Linked DNA regions of Homo sapiens: regions 2 and 3 are each linked to region 1. Evidence: promoter capture Hi-C in 16 types of primary human blood cells and fetal thymus (Javierre and others, 2016). All regions are on one chromosome and are shown on one strand. The core of a region is centred on a gene start or on the middle of the fragment in contact, and the rest is flanking DNA. Distances in the headings are between cores, read along the strand shown. Region 1 holds the start of VPS35 (VPS35 retromer complex component). Region 2 overlaps LONP2 (lon peptidase 2, peroxisomal). Region 3 overlaps LONP2 (lon peptidase 2, peroxisomal).

Region 1 (2,957 bases), core at 308-2,807:
TCTCCCCCAGTAGCCTCTTAAGTTCGACATTGGTACCCAGGGCCACAGTCCGTGACACTGAAGGCACACAAGATGTTTGATGAATTGAAGTGGATTCTGGAATTTTAGGGCTGGGAAGGGCCAAAGGGGCCGCCAACACTTGCTTTCGGATGCAAAAGTGCGACACCAAGAAGACTAAGCGAGCTGCCTAAATTATAGACAGTGACTGTGAAAGAACGAATACTCAAGTTTCCTTTCCCAATAAAATTCATGAGGACAAGACTGTGTGTCTGGCTGATTGCTCCCAACTGGTTCACCCAACAAAGAATCGGAGTGTGTAATACATCCTCAATTAAGTGTTTTCCATTACAAAACAATATAAATGTCAATCCATAAACGCTGGAAACACACAAATCCTAAAGTTAAATTTTGCGCCGGTCTTGTATCAATTCCCAATTATAAAAATCCTGAGAAACAGGCAAAATCACCTTGTACGGCAACACGTTATATGAAAATAGTATTTGTAAAACACTTAATCCTTTCTGGCATTAAGACATTTAAAGTGAAATCTGTTTCCAGGCTTACAGATTTACAGAAGCCTATCTACACAGAGTGAGTAAGGTAATTAAAGCGGACATACAGTATATACTCAAAAAATTTATTTACACAGTGCAGGCTATGTTAAACGCTAATAAAATGCAAGTGACAACTTGCCTTTGTGGGAACCAGACACAAAGATTCACATTTTGAGGAAGTTCAAGTTTACCGGCCAACAGCCACACCACGATTTGCTGCCGTCATAGACGGGCCCTAAGGAGAAGTACTGCTTCCAGCAAGTCAAATACTTGGATTTTATCAATGGCGAGACAAAAGAGGCAAGGTGCGCCCAATGCACAAATGCTAAAGTAAACAATCAGTCTCCTTTGCGACCGTCAGGATTAGAAGACAGCCTGAGTCCTTCCAGGAAATTCATGTAAGCAGGTCCCCAGAACTCGCTGACAAACACTGCAGCCGAAGGCGGGTATGAGGCCAAGAAAGGCCAAGGAATCACTGCGACCCCTCCAGGAGGGCGTGGGGACGGCCGAGCACAACTAGGCACAAAGGTAGAAACGCAACATCTGGGCGGGTCCCGGCGCCACCTCCGAGTCTCAGGGCCTCCACGCGCCCCGGGGGCCAGACGCTCAGACCTAGGACTACCGGTCCCCTCGTGGTAGGCAGGTGACCGATTCCACTTAAAGGAGGCCGCAGGCCTTCATGGACCCCAAAGCCTACATGCCAAGTCAACCCCACAGAGAGGCCGCCCCGTCTCTCAGCAACGGCCGCAGCCAAGAGCCGCCGCCCACCCCGGCCCGGATCAGCCTGCCCGCGGCCTTCCTCCTGCTGTCCCCTATCCCGCAGGCCAAATCGGGCTGGTCTTAATCCCGAACGGTCTGTGGGGCCCCTTCTCCACTCGCTGGAGTGCGGGGCGGTGGGAGAGAGCAGGGGCTACAAGGAGGGTCGACCCAGGTGCCACTGCCCCCTCAGCACTCACCATGGCGACTCCCCAGAGCCTGCAGCAAGCAGCACCCGCCCCGCGCGTAGCCTCCCGCGGTCATGTGACGCTGCGGCCCCTCCAAGCCCCGCCCTCTCTAGCCCCGCCCCCGGGCCCTACAGGCGGCTCATTGATTGGCCTACTTCTAGGAACCCGAGTCTCGCGTGCTTATTGGCCCTGTCACTTAACGCTAGATGGACGGACCTGAGCGCCAGCCAATCTCACCACAGCGTGCGAGAGTGGGCGGAGCAGTGCAGGGCAGTGGGGATCGCCCGGCGGCAGGCAGGAGACAACAGGAGGGAAAGGCAGTGTGTGATGAGTTTGTCAAGAAGGAATGGAAGGAGGGGGAGCCGACAAGTCCACGTTCACCGCATCTGCGTTGGCGATTGCGCTATTGATGCGCATGCGCAAAAGGAAGACCCTGATTGGTTTGTGGGACGGTCTCAACGTCCTGTCCTAACCAATCCAGATGCGCCGGGGGTGGGGCCTGGCTCTCACTGGCCGGTGCAGCCTTTGCGCGCGGGTTTCGTTGACCCGCGGCGTTCACGGGAATTGTTCGCTTTAGTGCCGGCGCCATGGGGTCGGAGCTGATCGGGCGCCTAGCCCCGCGCCTGGGCCTCGCCGAGCCCGACATGCTGAGGTGAGTTCGGCCGCGCAAGACCAGGGCTGGGCTTCCGCCTCGCGGCCCTGGGCCCTCAGGTGAGGCCCGCGCCCTTCCCAGGCGACGGGCGGCGGGGGAGTGACGGGGAGCGCTGGGGCCGGGCGGGGTTTAGGGCCTACTTCAAGAAAAACTTCTCGGCCGTGAGCTTGAATGAGATGGCAAGAAGGGCGATAGCAAACGGCGATGGCACACGTCCCTGGGAACAGCCAGCCCTGTCCGTGGGTAGAAAAATGAGCCAGGGAGAACTTTCCGTTCATTCCGCCAACGCCTACTGCAGTCGGGTTTATAGCGGGGAACCCGACAACGAGGCGCAGACCCCGCTGTCTGTAAGGGCGAGGACTGTGTAGACCTTAACCGGGCAATGCTCCTGAGCCACTGGGCTTGGGGTGGAGCGCGGCCTAGCGGCTGCCTTTAACACAAAGAAACAAACAAAACTCGGAAAAGCAGGCGCCGTTCCCGCTGAGGCCGGATTGATGGCAGATGCTAGGCGAGGAAAGATATGGCAAGAGCAGCCCAGGCAGGGGCGACAGCTCCTGTAAAAGCGTTGAGATGGGAAGCGGGATCCGGGGTTCGAAATAAAGCCATTGTAGCTAAAACGTGGAGCAGTCAGGCGAGGGAAGGCAAGGAAAACAGCACTTAAAAGATTTGAAGACAAACCTGCAGGACTCGGTAGTCATTTAGAACAGTGGTTCTCAAAATGTGGTTCCTGGACCAGCAACAGCCATATCATCTTGTCACTTGTTAGAAATACAAATTCTTGGGTCCCACCTCAAGCCTGCTGATCAG
Region 2 (2,957 bases), core at 275-2,774, 1.6 Mb after region 1:
TGAAGAAATAACAATAATGAGGAGTTTTAAGTGTGGAAAAGTTAGTACTCAAGAAAGGGTAATGAACTTTTAAATGTACACTGTTTTACCAAAAATGTTAATCACATTACCTCTCTATTTTTTTAAGTGGTATATAGTCAAAAATAAAATATTTTTGTTTGATGACAGGTATACCAGAGAGGCAGGGGTTCGTTCTCTGGATAGAAAACTTGGGGCCATTTGCCGAGCTGTGGCCGTGAAGGTGGCAGAAGGACAGCATAAGGAAGCCAAGTTGGACCGTTCTGATGTGACTGAGAGAGAAGGTTGGTGACCTTGTTCTGGCATTCTCAGGCCTGGTGGCTAGGAGTGAGTGACAGAAGAAGGTTGGGTATGGAGGGGAAGGTGTTGGGTAGTCCTTGGAGCAGTGGCACACATGACTCCACTGTTAAATGCATCCAGTAAGTAATACCTTAATGTTTCAACATATTTCATCCAGAGGATTGTCTTTTACAAATAGCACAGTTTTAACTGGAATAATAATATGAATGCTTTGAGGATATAGGAACTGTATTAGGGTTCACTAGAGGGACAAGACTAATAGGATAGATGTGTATATGAAGAAGAGTTTAAGGAGTATTAACTCACACAATCACATGGTGAAGTCCCACAATAGGCCATCTGCAGGCCGAGGAGCAAGGAAGCCAGTCCAAGTTCCAAAATCTCAAAAGTAGGGAAGCCGACAGTACAGCCTTCAGTCTGTGGCCGAAGCCCCAAGAGCCCCCAGCAAACCACTGGCGTACGTTCAAGAGTCCAAAAGTTGAAGAACTTCGAGTCCAATATTCGAGGGCAAGAAGCATCCAGCACGGGAGAAAGCTGAAGGCCAGAAGATTCAGCAAGTCTGATCCTTCCAGCTTCTTTTCTCTGCTTTATTCTAGCCATGCTGGAAGCTGATTAGATGGTGCCCACTCAGATTGAGGGTGGGTCTGCCTCTCCTAGTCCGCTGACTCAAATGTTAATCTCCTTTGACTATATCCTCACAGACACACTGGAACAATACTTTGCATCCTTCAATCCAAAGTTGAAACTCACTATTAACCATCACAGTAACTTTCTCCAGATGTATAATGATGGTGTACGTTATGTATGGGTTCTGGTGTTATCTTATTTCTTTCTGACCCAGACAGTTAAGTCTTTAAATAATTTATAACATAAAAAGTTTTTACAACATAAGACAATCCATGCTGTTCAGGTACTGCAAGGACAGACCTTTGTACTCTGGAATAGCTCCATGTGTAATAATTTTTCACACATTTTCTTTTATGGATAAACAACTAAATGTAATTTAAATTATTCTTTAAAAAATTATTGTGAAGGTGTTCTATTACTGGAATTAATCAAATGTGGATGTTCCTTTGGTATCTACTTAAAATGTTTTAACTGGCCAGGCACAGTGGCTCATGCCTTTGATCCCAGCACTTTGGAAGGTTGAGGCAGGCAGATGACTTGAGGTCAGGAGTTTGAGACCAGCCTAGCCAACACGGTGAAACCCCGTCTCTACTAAAAATACAAAAATTAGCCAGGCGTGGTGTTGGGCGCCTGTAGTCCCCGCTACTCTGGAGGTTGAGGCAGGAGAATCGCTTGAGCCCAAAAGTCAGAGGTTGCAGTGAGCAAAGGTCATGCCCACTGCACTCCATCTGGGCAACGGAGCGAGACTCCATCTCAAAAAAATAAATAAGTAAATAAAATAAAATGTTTTAATTTCTTGCCCCAAAACTGTAAGGGGTCTCAGTTCATCATATCATGCTGTTATGCAGTTTGCCAAAACTTGCTTTAACAAACATGAGTTGTAGGGAATTGACAATTTCTTTCATAGTAAAGAGATTTATTAGATTTTTCTATCATTTCCATAGCTGTTTCCAGAAAGGAGTTGGATGACTGTGATTAAAGAACCATAATTTATGGTGGACCCAGTTGAACAGACACAGCCAAATGTCTTTCTTGTTTTTCCATCAGTCGCTGAACACAGTGCATTTTACAGCAGTAGCATCAGAGTCAGCTTTCACAGAATCCTTCTGTGGCCAGTACAGTGCTTCACCCCTGCCTCCCCACGCCTGGAACCTCACTGGTTCATTTTCTCCAGAGAGCGAAGCTCCTATCTTCTGTTGGATTGGAGGGAGGCAGTGCCTTCATTATGTGGAGTAGGAGTAGAGGTAGTGAGTTCTAATTGTATTTTATCCAGACTTTAAAACTTGTGCTTTATTTTTATTATTTTTATTTTATTTTACTTTTTGAGATGGAGTCTCGCTCTGTCGTCCAGGCTGGACTGCGGTGGCACAATCTTGGCTCACTGCAACCTCCGTCTCCGAGGTTCAAGTGATTCTCCTGCCTCAGCCTCCCCAGTAGCTGGTACTGTAGACGGATGCCACCACGCCCGGCTAATTTTTGTATTTTTAGTAGAGACAGGGTTTCACCATGTTGGCCAGGCTGGTCTTCAACTGCTAACCTCAGGTGATCTGCCCACCTTAGCCTGCCAAAGTGCTGGGATTACAGGTGTGAGCCACTGCGCCTGGCTTTATTTTTATTTTTTATTTTTACTCTGCCTTGGGAGAATCTAGAAAACTTTTGCCTTTTGTCCCACTCTTCATCCATGCTTTCAGGGCTACCTTGAATTCTTTAGCTTTTGTAGACTTTTAGGACCCACATCAACTTGTTGTTCTCTATCTCTAGCCCCACAAATGTTGAGGTTTCTGCTTTCTCTAGCCTGTTAAGTGTTGGTTACTTTTTGTCCATGTACTTTTTGTTTCCCAAAATTTTGTCAGCATCTCTTGTCAGCTGATGTCCTCTTTGTCATTATTTTTGTTCTTGTGGGTTTATATATTTTTTATTTCTTAATTGTCATTTTAATACTATTCAGACAGGAAGTAAAAACGCATGCTCAGACTACCATTTATAGAAATTTGAATTTAAAAAAAATGTCC
Region 3 (2,957 bases), core at 249-2,748, 1.6 Mb after region 1:
AGTGAAAAACCAAGATCCTGTTTTTTCTTTCTTTTTTAAGGATTCTGATATTCATCTCAAACAACCTTGCTGATTAATATAGTTCATTTGGTTGTCTTAGCCATAGTGTAGCTTTGAATACTGTTAATAATTTTTTTTTAACTTGGCAATTTAAACCATGGCTCTGACTGTCTGTTTTTGGATTGTGTGTTTCTGAGAGAGATCCTATTGATTGACTCACATTTCCTTAGATTTTAGATGCTGTGAGCCTAGAGGAGCGGTTCAAGATGACTATACCACTGCTTGTCAGACAAATTGAAGGCCTGAAATTGCTTCAAAAAACCAGAAAACCCAAGCAAGATGATGATAAGAGGGTAAATATTTATTTTAACCCATTTCAGTTTTGAAAAAAAAATAAGGAGAATAAAGAGAGGAACAAAGAAGAAAAGTTTATTGTCTCCTACCACTCGCACTACTGATAAAATTTAGGTGTTTCCCTCTCATCCTTTTCTTTGCCTGGATTTTTTTTTAAAGCATGTAAGCATTTTTCTCACTTTGTTTTGGTTATCATCCAAAAGGATAATTTACTGAGCCATTTCCCCTTTTGTGTTGTTTCCAATGTTTTGTGTATTGTAAACACTAACAAATAACTATGATGGGTGTCTTTGAGTATAACATTTTTTTACTGCATGTAATACTAAGAAACTAATACAAAACTCTTTCTTAAAAGGACTATATGTTGTGTCAAAATTTGGCTGTTTTCAACTTATAATAAGTTTCCATTTTTATTTAGTCAAACTCTTGATCTTTTTTTGTTTTCTAAGCTTAAGTCCTCTAACCTTCAGTGGCTTGATAAATATTCACTTTCCTTTCAGTTTAATTTTAGTTGATTTTTTAAAAAGTATTTAATTCTTTAACCCATATATTATTTTGAAGACAGCAGTTGTATTTTTCCCTCAAATAGCTTTTTGTTTGACTCAACACCACTAATTAAATAATCCTTCCCATCCCCATTATCATCTATTACATTTATATGTATGATGGGATCTGTTTGAAGTCTACCTTGATCTGCTGATTTTACTATTTTTATGTCTGGACAGAGTTTATATTAGGAAGATATATTTGATGTGGACAGGATGTGAAAATGGCATTTCTCTGAAGGTGTTGAGATGCAGCGCTCTGACTTAAGTTGAGGCGTTGAGAATTATGTTAGCAATTTGACGTTCATCAGCGCAGAAGTCTTGTCATCAAAGAGAATACATTGTAGAGAAAGCGGAGCAGAAGGGAAGAACTCCTCCCCGGTGGGACTAGAGAAGGGGCAGTCAAGTAGGCTGAGGAGAGAGATAGGAACAGTGATGATCATGCTGGCGATTAGTACTCCAGGACACCATGCTGTTTAAAACATGCAGAAAGCTGGATTATTTCTGGCTTGAGATCAGGTCAGGGACTCAATTACTCATTTTGTATAGAGAGACAAATCCACTGGGAGTTGCAGAAAACTGCAACTTACTCTCAGTAAAGTTTGCCATCACTTAAAATGAAAGTTTTTCAAAAGTGCTCCAGAAAATAAGCAAGAGACAGTTATTTAAAAAGTAGGAATTAGGATAATATTTGGAGTTAACCTAAAACTCTCTCCTTTTTGTTCCCCTAAGAGTTGAAAAGCACTGTTTTAGCAGTCAGGAAGGAAAAATGCATTAAAAAGTGCTTTTGTCTTAACAATGAAATCACTGATATGCTTATAAAAATCTCACTTTTAAAAAATATATAATATGTTCAGTTTTTTATTTATAATATTTTATCTGCTGATGACTTATGTAAGAATAAAAGCATATATTTAGTACTTGTGTTTTTATAAAATTAAATTTTTATTTACTGCTTTATGTTTTAAACATTTTTATATTTGAATGTATTAAATAGATAAATTTTCCAGGTTAAAAAATAAGTTCTGGGCTGAATGCAGTGGCTCATGCCTGTAATCCCAGCACTTTGGGAGGCCAAGGAAGGAGAATTGCTTGAGGCCAGGAGTTCAAGACCAGGCTGGGCAACATAGTGAGACCTCATCTTTACAAAAAAAATTTAAAAAATTAGCCAGCATGCTGGTGTGTGTCTGTAGTCCCAGCTATTTAGGAAGCTGAGGTGGAAGGATTACTTGAGCCAGGGAGGTTGAGGCTGCAGTAAGCAGTGTTCATGCCATTGCACTTCAGCCTGGATTACAAAGCTTGACCTTGTCTCAAAAAATAAAATGTTCTGGGGGCTTTTAAATTAAATGCTAGTATATAATTTTGCTCCAGTAGTGGTTGTTTATTCATGAATTTCAAGGAGCATATAAGGTAGTTTTAACATATGATAGAGAGATCATAGAGAATACAAAGGCCATTTGACTTTGCACAGAATATGTTTTTTAGATTTGAAAGAACAATTTTGGCAGGATGGGAACAGATGCCGAAGGCTCACTGAAGTAATTGATGAGGTAGGGGATCTGGTGGTTATAGCCACTTGCTGGAGAAGCAGAACTTCACAAGAAAGGAAGTAAATAGTGCGATAGTTAACTAGAAGAAACTAGAGGTAAGAAAAAAATATTTTGAAAGCAGGAAAGCTTTGAAGACAAAATAGAGCCAGTGGTGGAAAGGTTGAAGATGCTAGGAAGAAATTTTGTAATGTAGGAGATAAAATGGAATTTTTTTCAGTCACCAAATGGTAAGAAGTAATGTATTTCAAGAAAATAGTGGCTGCAATAGTAGCTCAAAGAAAGGTAATTCCTAGATGGTTTAATTATTTCTAGTATCCAGTTCCTTGAAATTTGTTTTCTCATGCAAGTATTATTGTAAGCATATACCAAAGAATCATGTCTACCTTACGTTGGTCTACTTCTGCAATTCTGCTGCCTCTCTGTATACAACTGCCTTTTGATTATCATTCTGAACTTCACTTCCTAAAGATAGAGACTGTAGTCATAAAAATATTTATTCAGCACCAGT

What was found. Contacts are between HindIII fragments. The CHiCAGO score rates a contact against its expected background, and 5 or more counts as called.
Region 2: a contact is called between a fragment that was not itself captured here and the fragment with the promoter of VPS35 in region 1, in 4 of 17 cell types (non-activated CD4 T cells, naive CD4 T cells, total CD8 T cells and 1 more). The highest score is 9.1, in non-activated CD4 T cells.
Region 3: a contact is called between a fragment that was not itself captured here and the fragment with the promoter of VPS35 in region 1, in 3 of 17 cell types (naive CD8 T cells, non-activated CD4 T cells and total CD8 T cells). The highest score is 6.0, in naive CD8 T cells.

The regions. Positions count from the first base shown.
Region 1 is chr16:46,687,621-46,690,577 of GRCh38, forward strand. It overlaps VPS35 (VPS35 retromer complex component), which reads right to left and starts at 1,558. Exons shown (of 17, transcript NM_018206.6): 1 at 1,511-1,558. The coding sequence starts at 1,513. ORC6 (origin recognition complex subunit 6) reads left to right here and starts at 2,039. Exons shown (of 7, transcript NM_014321.4): 1 at 2,039-2,150. The coding sequence starts at 2,086. RefSeq lists enhancers at 1,029-1,726, 1,727-2,425, 2,663-2,742, 2,793-2,862 and silencers at 1,263-1,312, 1,463-1,702, 2,023-2,322. The HindIII fragment of the contact is 9,040 bases long and covers 1-2,957 here.
Region 2 is chr16:48,303,004-48,305,960 of GRCh38, forward strand. It overlaps LONP2 (lon peptidase 2, peroxisomal), which reads left to right. Exons shown (of 15, transcript NM_031490.5): 11 at 169-302. Among named protein-coding and RNA genes, the nearest start is that of ABCC11, 57 kb to the left of the region's middle. The HindIII fragment of the contact is 4,768 bases long and covers 1-2,957 here.
Region 3 is chr16:48,258,388-48,261,344 of GRCh38, forward strand. It overlaps LONP2 (lon peptidase 2, peroxisomal), which reads left to right. Exons shown (of 15, transcript NM_031490.5): 4 at 231-353. Among named protein-coding and RNA genes, the nearest start is that of ABCC11, 12 kb to the left of the region's middle. The HindIII fragment of the contact is 1,394 bases long and covers 802-2,195 here.